Linked DNA regions of Homo sapiens: all the other regions are linked to region 2. Evidence: promoter capture Hi-C in 16 types of primary human blood cells and fetal thymus (Javierre and others, 2016). All regions are on one chromosome and are shown on one strand. Each heading gives the region's core, a stretch centred on a gene start or on the middle of the fragment in contact. The rest is flanking DNA. Distances are from core to core; before and after follow the strand shown. Region 1 overlaps SGPP1 (sphingosine-1-phosphate phosphatase 1). Region 2 holds the start of AKAP5 (A-kinase anchoring protein 5). Region 3 overlaps LOC105370532 (a long non-coding RNA gene). Region 4 overlaps MAX (MYC associated factor X).

The links. Contacts are between HindIII fragments. The CHiCAGO score rates a contact against its expected background, and 5 or more counts as called.
Region 1: a contact is called between a fragment that was not itself captured here and the fragment with the promoter of AKAP5 in region 2, in 1 of 17 cell types (M2 macrophages). The highest score is 5.3, in M2 macrophages.
Region 3: a contact is called between a fragment that was not itself captured here and the fragment with the promoter of AKAP5 in region 2, in 1 of 17 cell types (M2 macrophages). The highest score is 8.2, in M2 macrophages.
Region 4: a contact is called between a fragment that was not itself captured here and the fragment with the promoter of AKAP5 in region 2, in 1 of 17 cell types (M2 macrophages). The highest score is 5.1, in M2 macrophages.

What each region holds. Positions count from the first base shown.
Region 1 is chr14:63,701,994-63,705,014 of GRCh38, reverse strand. The region is part of intron 1 of SGPP1 (sphingosine-1-phosphate phosphatase 1); the gene reads left to right. Among named protein-coding and RNA genes, the nearest start is that of SGPP1, 25 kb to the left of the region's middle. The HindIII fragment of the contact is 4,906 bases long and covers 1-3,021 here.
Region 2 is chr14:64,463,934-64,466,882 of GRCh38, reverse strand. It overlaps AKAP5 (A-kinase anchoring protein 5), which reads right to left and starts at 1,384. Exons shown (of 2, transcript NM_004857.3): 1 at 1,270-1,384. It also overlaps a transcript of ZBTB25 not described here. RefSeq lists silencers at 1,110-1,179, 1,190-1,589. The HindIII fragment of the contact is 7,002 bases long and covers 825-2,949 here.
Region 3 is chr14:63,643,167-63,646,255 of GRCh38, reverse strand. The region is part of intron 1 of LOC105370532 (a long non-coding RNA gene); the gene reads right to left. Among named protein-coding and RNA genes, the nearest start is that of WDR89, 2.8 kb to the right of the region's middle. The HindIII fragment of the contact is 772 bases long and covers 1,035-1,806 here.
Region 4 is chr14:65,096,790-65,099,613 of GRCh38, reverse strand. All of the region lies in intron 2 of MAX (MYC associated factor X), which reads left to right. Among named protein-coding and RNA genes, the nearest start is that of MAX, 4.3 kb to the left of the region's middle. The HindIII fragment of the contact is 1,125 bases long and covers 865-1,989 here.

The DNA.
Region 1 (3,021 bases), core at 406-2,905, 760 kb after region 2:
GCTGGGACTACAGGCACACATCACCATGCCTGACTAATTTTTTGTATTTTTCATAGAGACAGGGTCTCACCATGTTGGCCAGGCTGGTCTCAAATTCCTGACCTCAAGTGATCTTCCTGCCTAGGCTTCCCAAAGTGCTGAGATTACAGGCCTGAGCCGCCACACCCGGCCAATTTGTAAATTTTGATGAAATTCCAGTTTACCTATGTTTTTCTTTTGTTACACATGCTTTTGGTGTCATAGTTAAGAATCTGTTGCCTAATCCAGAGTCATAAAGATTTATCCCTGTGTTTTCTTTTAAAAATTTTTTTAAAGATTTTCTTTCTTTATTGAGACAGGGTCTTACTGTGTTGTCCAGGCTGGTCTTGAACACCTGGGCTCAAGCGATCCTTCTGCCTTGGCCTCCCAAAGTGCTAGAATTACAGGTGTGAGTCACTACACCCGGCCCCTATGATTTCTTCTAAAAGTTTTTAGCTGCTATATTTAAGTTGTTGACCCATTTTGAGTGTATATATGGTATGAGATAGGAGTCCAACTTCATCATTTTGCATGTAGGTATTCAGACGTCCTAGCACTATTTGTTAAAGAGACTATTCTTTACCTATTTAATGGTCTTGGCATTCTTATTGAAAATCAGTTAACCATACGTATATGGGTTTAGTTTGGGGCCCACGATTCTATTTCACTGGTCTATATGTCTGACCTTATGTCAGTACCACACTGTTTTGAATACTGTAGTAAATTTTGAAATTGGAAAATATGAGTCCTTCCACATTGTTCTTCTTTTTTAGTATTGTTTTGGCTCTTCAGGACCTTTTGCAATTCCATATAAATTTGAGGATCAGCTTTTCAGTATCTGCAAAAATGCAATTAGAACTTTGACAGAAGGGCTGGGCATGGTGGCTTAGGCCTGTAATTCCAGTGCTTTGGGAGGCTAAAATGGGAGGATCACTTGAGCCCAGGAGTTGGAGACCAGCCTGGGCAACATAGCGAGACCCCCATCTCTATAAAACATTAAAAAATTAGCAGGGTATGGTGGTGCACACCTGTAGTCCCAGCTACATGGGAGGCTGCATTGGGAGGATCACATGAGTCCAGGAGTTGGAGGCTATGGTGAACTATGATTGAACCACTGCTAGATTGCACTCCAGCCTGGGTGATAAAGCGAGACCCCACTCCCCACCTGCCGCCAAAAAAAAAAAAAAAAAAAAAAACTTAAATAGGGATTACATTGACTATAGATCATTTTAGATAATAGTGCCATTTTAACATATTAAGTTTTAATGTATTAAGTCTTCTAATCCATAAACATGGGATATCTTTTCATTAATTAGGTCTTTTTTTTTTTTTTTTTTTTTTGAGATGGAGTCTCTCTTGCTCCGTTGCCAGGCTGGAGTGCCGGGGTGCAATCTCAGCTCACTGCAACCTCTGCCTCCCGGGTTCAAGCAATTCTCTTGCTTCAGCCTCCCAAGTAGCTGGGACTACAGGCACGCGCCACCACGCCCAGCTAATTTTTGTATTTTTAGTGGAGACAGGGTTTCACCATGTTGGCCAGGATGGTTTTGATCTCTTGACCTTGTGATCCGCCCACCTCAGCTTCCCAAAGTGCTGGGATTATAGGCATGAACCACTGTGCCTGGCCTTAATTAGGTCTTTAATTTCTTTCAGTAATGTTTTATAGTTTTCAATGGACAAACCTTTCACTTCCTTAGTTAAGTTTATTCCTAGGTATGGGTATTTTATTCTTTAGGATGCTACTGAAAGTGGAATTATTTTTCTTACTTTCATTTTAGGGTTTTTTTTTTATTGCTGGTATGTAGAAACACAGCTGATTTGTGAGTGTTGATCTTACACCCTGCAACTTTGCTGAATTCATTTATTAATTCTAATATGTTTTCTTCATGGATTATTTGGGATTTTCTATCTTTAGGATCACTTCGTCTGTGAATGGGGGTATAGTAGCCCCGCTCATCAGCAGAGGATATGTTCCACGACCCCCATTGGTGCCTGAAACTGTGGATAGTAGTCAACGCTATATATACTGTTTTTTTCCTGTACATATGTATCTATGATAAAGTTTAATTTATAAATTAGGCACAGTAAAAAAAAATATCACTTTATCTGTTATTTCCTTTAGCCATTAAGATCTGTAGTCTTTTTTGTCTGCTTACTGATGAAATTCTTTTTTACTTTGACACTTAGAAGTTCAGAATTCTGTTATTCAATGGGGAGTAAATATGAAAGTCATCATGTAGTCAGAACTGGATCAAGTGTTCCCCAAAATGTTTTCTTTTTAATTTTTTTTTAGACAGAGTCTCACTTCTTCACCCAGGCTGTAGTGCAGTGGCGCAATCTCGGCTCACTGCAACCTCTGCCTCCCAGGTTCAAGCGATTCTCATGCCTCAGCCTCCCAAGTAGCTTGGACTACAGGTGCGTGCCACTACACCTGGCTAATTTTTGTATTTTTAGTAGAGACAAGGTTTCATCCTGTTGGCCAGGCTGGTCTCAAACTCATGATCTCAAGTGATCAGCCTGCCTCGACCTTCCAAAGTGCTGCTGGGATTACAGGCATGAGCCACCATGCTTGGCCCCAAAATATTTTTTTTCCATAAAAAAATCTAGAGAACATATCATAAAGGTGGAGAGTAATGACCAAAAAAAGTCGGTCAATAAAAATGACTTATTTTGTTTTCTTTAGTCACCTCATCCCAGTGAAATCTGAAGGTGCCATGGAGCAGAGAAAAGGAAAGCCTCATAGCTTCTTTAGCCTCTGCATCTGGCTTGATAACATTCCATCTCTCCTTTTTAAACACCTTGGACATCGTAAAATTGAATAAATGTGGGTTAAGTCATACTTGGTTTCATTGCTCCTATTTAAAATCTCTACCCTTCCCCGTCCTACCTTCACCTCTAGCTTCTGAGACTCTATAGGTGATTTTTTCTTCAGTTTGTTGTGTATAAAGAACTCTTATCAGTAATTTTGTACATTTCTACTTCCTTATAGGGTCCAAGTTAGAGAAG
Region 2 (2,949 bases), core at 135-2,634:
TGGTATGATGGCACCAAAGAATGGAAATGGGAGGTGATTATCCAACAAAGATCCTATGAATTTTAGTGGGTGGATGCCCTAAAATAAGCAAAGGGACTCATTCTTTATATTGTTTTTATGTAAATCCTTCACTGAAGTTTCATTTGGGTAACCCATAATTTTATGAACTGTAGAAGGAACTGGAACCCTGAAAATCAGTTTATGATCTAAGTAAATATTATCTTAGGTTGGGTGTTTCATACTGTGTGCCTCTAACAGAAAGATAAAGTCATTCTAGAACAATGACGGAACTAAAATATGAACATTTGACAGTGTTTCTCCTCACAATGTTTCAGTGAGCACTAGAACCTAAGCTGATAACTGTTTAAATCTTCTCACCTCTTGTGAGTTTTCAGCACCTGAGCATTTTTGTTAAGCAGAGGCTGTATTACCACATAATAGAAATATTGAAATGAGATGTTTAGGAGTCTGTCATTGGAAACTAACCTGGATTGCGCAAAGACAATCGTTTGAGAAGCTCACTTGAATGTATCTCACATACTAGAAATAAAACGAATACCCAAACAGAAACTTAACTAACGAGGGAAAATAATGCAGTCTGTAGACAATAAAACTTTGCAGAATGTCAGACTGCAAATGATTCGCTCTTAACCAGCAAGGGTAGCTTTATCGCCTCAGGAAATCTTAAAGTCCCTGTGCTCATTTCCTGATGGAATTGCAAGTCTCATGTCACAGAAAACACCCCCTTTCCTTTTTCCCTTGAGCAGCCAGTACCCGAGGAAAGCAATGCATCTTTCCCAGCACCAGATACGGACCACGAAGCTTCCTCCTGGAGGAAGGAATCTCGAATTCTGGCTTGACGCCCCTTATGGCAGGAGACAGAGCGCAGGATAAAGTACTCAAAAAGGAAAATGCCGGGGGCGTGGAACAGATAACCCAGCTTCAGGCTGTCTGCAGAATTATAATGTAATGGCCAGAAACCCAAAATCACATTTCTCAAAGAGGGATAAAGAAGGAAAAAAGCCACCGGCAACCCATGCTTCTAAGACAAGCTGTAACGCGAAGGGGATAGGTGGGCAGACCTGATGAGGGTCGCCCTGGCCGCGGATTCCAGCGGACAAGCGACCTCCCGCGTTCTTACTCCCAGCACCTCAGAGGGCTCGGATACCCCGTATCCAGTGGGCACCTCTTGCCCACTCCGCGGTCCGCGGACCGGACATTGCCCCCGACCCTCCTCCCCCGCAGGCTCCCCGCCCTGCCTTTACTTACGTAGGGCGTCGGGGTCCTTGGCCAACACTGCTCCCGAGGTGGCGGCGCGCTCGCGGGGCCCGCCGCCCAGGCCTCCAGGGAGCCGCGGTCGCACCCGGAGCAAGGCGCCCTCTGCAGAGCCCGCCGCCGGGTGCGCCCCCTCCCCACCGCGCGGGGACAGACAGCAGGCAGCGCCAATGCGAGCGGAGCGGAGCGGGCGGGCAGGGGCGGGGCGACCGCCGGAGGCGCGGGGCGGCGCGGGCGCCGGGACCCACCTGCAGCAGCAGCCTGCCTGCCTGCCGCGGGGAAGCCCATCGTGCTCCGCCCGGGCGCCAATCTCCACTGCCAGACCACATCAGCGCCGAGGCGGGGACCGCAAGAGAGCCAGCCGGAAGGTTCGGGGGGCGGGGGAAGGCGGGGGGGACCAGGGCAATGAACCCCGCGTTTTCTGAGACGCTAAATAGTGAGGTCCGGTTTCAAATTATAGACAGTCGCATTACACATCTCCTCTCCTCCCCCTCAGAATATTTAAAGACAAGGCAGACATCGCATTTTAAAAGCAGGATTCAAAACTGTGCATAGAATAGCGAGGTCATGTTTGTTTGAAGCGAAAATTACATATATAAATGGAAACAGAAAGAAACCCGACTTTCTCAGGAGTGGCTTGAGTGTCAGATCATCGTGGTTCATCGCCAAACAGGCTTTCAAACCTTTGTCTCCCAGTGGGAAGCAGGTGGAGGTGATTGGTGCAGAACTTTGGCCTGCAGGAGCAGCTGCATCTCTATGCGGACAAGGTGAGAAAGGCACAGGAACCCAGCTCCATCCATCTTATACCTTACATAGTTCCAAAAATAAGTTGAGGTAGCTTACAAGTTACCCATGATTCCCTTCAGGACATTCCCTATGAGGGCATTCCTGGGAGCTCCAGCTGTAAAATCTAGTAGGATCCATCACAATCCCAGCCTCCTCCTCTGGCCCCCATAGCATAGCATCCAGATGAAGAACCTGGTAAGGTGAAGTGAAGAACTACTGAAAAGCAGCCGCGTTCATCTCCTTTCTTCAACAGGATCACGACCTTAGGGAGTGTAAATGTCAGGTGTCCATTTTTGTATTTTTTCCGGAAATGTTTTATATTTGTAAGATTCTGTAGTTTCCACAGAGGCTTATCAAGGAAAGAACTCTTGAGACACAAAAGCAAAGCCAAATATAAGCTGTCAAGATCTTAAAATTACAGATAAAAGAGGCAAGAGTTGTAAAACAGGAAAATCCATAAGCATCTAGTTTAGTTGTAATTAAGAATTCAGGGATGGGCGCAGTAGCTCACACCTGTAATCCCAGCACTTTGGGAGGCCAAGGCAGGAGGATGGCTTGAGTCCAAGAGTTTGAGACCAGCCTGGGCAACATAGGGAGACAAAAAAATCTAAAAAATTAGCTGGGCATGGTGGTGCACGTATGGTCCCAGTTACTCAGGAGCTCAGGAGGCTGAGAAGGGAGGATCACTTGGGCCCAGAAGGTCAAGGCTGCTGTGAGCCACTACTGCACCACTGCACGCCAGCCTGGGCAACAAAGTGAGACCCTGCCTCAAAAAAAAAAAAAAATTCAGTCAGCCTTGTTCACTCAGCAAACACGTCTATCGAAATGGTCTGCGTATCTCTCTATGGGTTGCTAGCGCTGCTTGTTGCCAGTTTTGAACTTTAAGCC
Region 3 (3,089 bases), core at 171-2,670, 820 kb after region 2:
AAACCAAAGAGTATCTGAGACAAGCCTCATCAATTTAGGAAGTTTACTTTGCCAAGGTCAAGGATGTGCCCACGGCAGCCTCCAGAGGTCCTGAGGACATGTGCCCAAGGTGTTCAGGGCACAGCTGGGTTGTATACATTTTAGGGAGACGAGACATCAATTAATATATGTAATGTACATTGGTTCAGTCTGGAAAGGTGGAATAACTTGAAGTAGGGAGGAAGTCCACAAGGAATTTCCTTGTGGCAAATTGTGATGAAGGAGGTAAGCAGTTGTTTTATCCTTGCAGCTATCTCATTGAGGAATAGAATGGGAGGCAGGTTTGCCCGACACAGTTCCCAGCTTGACTTTTCCTTTTGGCTTAGTGATTTTGGGGTCCTGAGATTATTTTCTTTTCACAGTTCTAACCACCTGAGCTAACTGGCCAATACCATTCTTTCATATTAGATACTAACTAAAACATTTGTGTTTTTTTCTTTGACTTCTCTCCCCACAAGATCTTCAAATTGCAGTTGTCATGTCCCAACTCCAAATATGGTTTTGATCACATATTTCTCAAAAAAATTTTACCACTTACTCAATACATATATATTTTTACATATACATTGCAAAAATGGCCAGGCTTAGTGGCTCATGTCTGTAATCTTGGCTCTTTGGAGGCCGAGGTGGAAGGATCCACTTGAGGCCAGGAGTTTGAGACCAGCCTGGCCAACATAGTGAGACCCTGCCCCTATTAAAGAAAAAAAAAAAGGGCCAGGCATGGTGGCTCACCTGAGATCGGGACTTCGAGACCAGCCTGACCAACATAGAGAAACTCCATCTCTACTCAAAATACAATTAGCCAGGCATAGTGGTGAATGCCTGTAATCCCAGCTACTGGGGAGGCTGAGGCAGGAGAATCGCTTGAATCCGGGAGGCAGAGGTTGTGGTGAGCCAGATCACACCACTGCACTCCAGCCTTGGCAACAACAGCGAAACTCTGTCTCAAAACAAAACAAAAAACAAACAAACAAAAAAAGATTTTTAAAAAAGCTTATATTGTTATATGTAAAAAATTTAAAAACACAGAAATGTAAAGAAAAATGTTGAGAATAAAAAGGACATACAAATAAGGGTTCTAATATTCTCTTCCTGCATCTCAAGAGTCGTTTCATTCATCTCACTTTGAGTTTACTTGGTTCTTTTTTTTGTTTAGTTTTGTTTTAGACAGGGTCTCACTCTGTCATCCAGGCTGGAGTGCAGTGTTGAGATGATGATTCATTGTAACCTCTGTCTCCTGGGCTGAAGCAATCCTCCCATTTCAGCCTCCCAAACTGCTGGGATTACAGGTGTGCACTACCATACCCAGCCTGAGTTCACTTCTTAAACTATTTCCCAACAGAGTACAAAGATGATTCACAGGTTCACACTGTTAAAGGTAGTAATGGTGCCTGTTTAAATATGTTTTTTAAATTCTCAAAATAATAATTTTTTTCTTTAAAATAGAACATTTTGGCCGGCTCAGTGGTTCACACCTGTAATCCCAGCACTTTGGGAGGCCAAGACAGGTGGATCTCTTGAGGCCAGGAGCTCAAGACCAGCCTGGCCAACATAGCAAAACCCAGTGTCTGCTGAAAATAGAAAAAATTAGCTGGGTGTGGTGGCACGCGCCTGTAATCCCTGCTATTCGGGAGGCTGAAGCATGAGAATTGCTTGAACCTGGGAGGTGGAGGTTGCAATAAGCCGAGATTGTGCCACTGCACTCCAGCCTGGGTGACAGAGGGAGACTCTGTCTCAAAAATAAACAAATGAAACATTTTAGAAGCTTCCAAAAGTGCTGAGAGAACACTTAGAATTTAAATCAGCCAAATGTGGCCACAGTTTAGTCACTCAGCTGATCTATCATTCAGCTAAACAGCGCTAACCACAGTAGCCTTGATTCAGTTTTTAATGGTGTTTATTCTTAGTTATATGACATTTAATTAACATGTTAAATGAACTACTGATTTAAAATAAGAGGCAAAAGGAAAATACCATTAAAATGCTAGCTAATGAAAAGCATTAAAAATATAATTCTGCATTTTTGCCAGAGTCATCTTCACCCATCCATATGTTTCACCTACTACATCACATAGAATATTACAAGGATAAATATATCGATGATTTACACCCAATTTCGCTCTTCATTTATTGGGAATAAAAACGAGCATAAGCTTGTAATCCCAGCACTTTGGGAAGCCGAGGCAGGAGCCTCGTTTGAACTCAGGAGTTCGAGACCAGCCTGGGCAACATAGCGAATCTCTGTCTACACAAAAAATATGGCCGGGCGCAGTGGCTCACGCCTGTAATCCTAGCACTTTGGGAGGCCGAGGCAGGTGGATCACAAGCTCAGGAGTTTGAGACCATCCTGGCTAACACAGTGAAACCCCGTCTCTACTAAAAATACAAAAGATTAGCCGGGCATGGTGGCATGTGCCTGTAGTCCCAGCTACTTGGGAGGCTGAGGCAGGAGAATCTCTTGAACCCGGGAGGCGGAGGTTGTAGTGAGCTGAGATCGCGCCACTGCACTCCAGCCTGGGCGACAGAGCGAGACTCCATCTCAAAAAAAAAAAAAAAAAAAAAAAATCTGGGCTTGGTGGCGTGTGCCAGTAGTCTCAGCAATTCAGGAGGCTGAGGTGGCAGGCTCACTTGAGCCCAGGACGTCGAGGCTGCAGTGAACCATGATCCCACCTCCTGCCAGTGCACTCCAGCCTGGATGACAGAGCGAGACCCTGTCTCCAAAACAAAACAAAACAAAGAGCTAAATCGGTAATGTTTCCTTTACAAACAACCTGAAACCTTCTCTAATCATTTAGAAATAAGATACAAAAATGACAAAAATAATTCGATATTTTAAACAAAAATGCAATAATTACAAGCATCAGTAATGAACGCAGTTTTTGCTTAGCTTTAATTCTGTAAAGTGTACTTAATTTTAATCTAGAAGTGTAGAAGTATTACATACATCCGAAATCATGTTTTTTTCTTCTACAGTCGAAAGTTTGTATTACATGTAAAATAGGAAAAAAATATTAAAATTTTTCGAAAGCGAAAAGTCTACTCAGCAAGTT
Region 4 (2,824 bases), core at 178-2,677, 630 kb before region 2:
CCTTTGAATTGAAATTATACTGACTTCCCAGTAAGAGAAAGTTGTGTTTTTTTTGTTTGTTTGTTTGTTTGTTTGTTTTTTTGGTGAAATTTTGGCTCGCAGTTCTTGAAAGCTTTCTGCTTTTCAAAATTTTCATCCATATGATCGTTGATATAAATTTGTTATTAAATTATTATAATGTTTCTGCTTTCCTGGAATGCTAATCTCATTGTTTTGTCTAGATGTTTTTAGTTTGCTGTTAAGGTGCCTAGGATTTTTCCTTTTGATTTTGGGGGTAGGCAAAGGAAGTTGGTTTGACACTTTGTTTTTAATTTAACACATCTATTTGTTGATATTTCTAAATATTACTCTGCACAATGTAATTACAACAGCATGGAGAGAAAAAGCAGATATGTTATAAACAAATTTTATAGTATATCAAACAACTATTGTGACTGTGTAGGGTAAAAAGGATTCCATTTTTTCCCCTCTGTGAATGCATCTGCTTACTTCTCAATATTTAATATGGATAATAAATATATTTTTTAAAATTTAAGAGGGAGCTATTCTTAAGTTTTGCCTTAGAAAAAAGGTTTAAAAAAAGATGTGGACTGTGAACAACCAAATACTTAGGTATTCAGGACTACAGAAGATGTTGAAAAAGTTATTTGAAAAGGGTTCTGTGGATCCTAATATAAAAACATTCATGTATGTTTTATAATGTCACTACAATATATAGGCCTTACTACATGAGAAATGTAAGATACTGAGAAGAGAGTTAGGAAGTTAGGCTAACTCTAACAGAAAGTGAAACTGATTTGGCAAATATTTTTTTCTATTGCTTCAGTACAAACGGAAAACAGCTTCTCCAATGGCCAGTAAGCTTTGTTAAAGGAAGTAACCCCAAAGAGTATTCTTACTACTAAATTCAGTACATCGCAAAATCCCACTGATGTTATTTTTATTATATTTTGGAGGGAAGAGGTTGCATTTTAAAGATAAATTTGTGGGACAGGTATATTATATTGCAAGGGCTTCCTTTTGCTTTATTTCTGTTTGGGAAATTTCTTTAGGAAAGAGTGTAAGTATACAGGAAATGTATGGGTTAGTGTGTTGGTCAGGAAATGCAATTTTTTTTCCAGTGACCATCCTTGATGGCACCTGACTGAGTTGCAGTTGCAGTATACTTGTGAGGGGTTTGAAAACAGATTTGTGCAATTCCACTTCTGGACCTTTCTGGCATGAAATATTTTTAACTTCTCAGAGCTCTTTGCTTCTTTAGGAATATTCAGAAGAGAACGAGCTTGGTAGCCTCCGAGATTGGAATTCACTCAGGAAACTACTGTCTGTTTTACCTGCAGTCAGTTGCATGGCAAAAGTGCTGCACAATGCATGTACTTTTTCTCTGCTTAGAGTGTTGACAGTGATGCTTACAGTGATAACAAATGCCAGAGTTAGTTCCTAAATGTGCCTGTGTTAGGGTAAAAGTTGTTCTTATGTCTAAAAGAATTTTTCCAAGATGCCAGTAACGGTGAAATAGTTGGTCAAAGAATTCAGCTTGGTTTTTAATTAAAATTTCCTGACCAAGGCATCCTTCTCTGAAATGGCTATAGTATGAGGCCCTGTTTGGATTATAGCATTTGCCAGTTATTTTAGGCACCAAAAGAAAAAAGTTTGAAAACAAATACATACATTAGATAATGTTGGAAATGTATACCAGGCAATCAGCTACAAGCAGGACAGGTATTGGAAAATTGAAATCCATGTCTTTCTCTTAGGGAGCTTGGTGAGTTTATCCCATCCTACCTGCCTATTATTTTATGTTATAATTTTTGGGTTGATTAAAATGAATATTTTAAGTTGCTTAGAAATTGAGCTTTATCCTATCTTGTTCTTATCTATCAGAAGTAAGAAATAGATCTTTTCGGATGAGATTTTTGGGTCTGTGTATTCTCGTGTCCTTAGTCTCTAATAAGAATAGCTTGATAAGAATCATAAGCAACACAAGCTTCCCTCTAAAATACAACCTTCACATTTTGTAAAGGTAGTAAATATTGAGTGGGCAACTAATTCCCTATATGCTGAGAATTTTCTGTATTAGAATTGAGATGGTTCCCCTTATAGGTGGGGTTAGCTGTCAGGTAGCCTGTAAGACATGGCATTGTTCTGGAGAACCTTGTGCATCCTGGAATAATGAAGCATTTATTTCCCCGTGCTATTTGCCTAGAACTTGGAGGAAATAAGATTACTGACTGATGTGATGCCTTGAACAAAGATGCAGTCTCTCTGCAGTAAGTTGGAAGGAAATAATTTTAAGAGATTTCCCTCAATTTTGAACAGACCTCCTTAGCCTAGATGACTTCTTGCCAACATAGCAACTTCTTGGCTAACAAAATAATGTTTGTCTTCAACATCTAACAACACTTAAGATACACGTGCTTGGTAGTGTCAAAGATGGACAAATTGTAGGTGAAGATTTTTATTCTGTCTACCAGTGTGGAAAGTTGGGTAGAAATATAACTGAGAGGCTGAATAAAAACTTTGGCAGAGATGTCAAAGCTGGAAGTGATTTGGTGCGGGAGTTTCTGTTGAGCATCTGTGGACCACTGCATAGCCCCTTAGTATTTCTGTTAGGGATGCCCTGGAGGAAGGGTTTTCTGGCAGACATCCAGACGTACAAATCCAGCGTACTAGAAGAGTGGGCAGCATCCAGCCACTGTAACCATAGGATGTGTAGGGGAGATGTTTGGGAGCCTGCTGTACAGTCCAAGAATACCTCTGTGGTCTCCTAGAATAGGGCCTAATTAATTCCACAAGGGGGTTTTCCGTACCATTTGTTTTCATT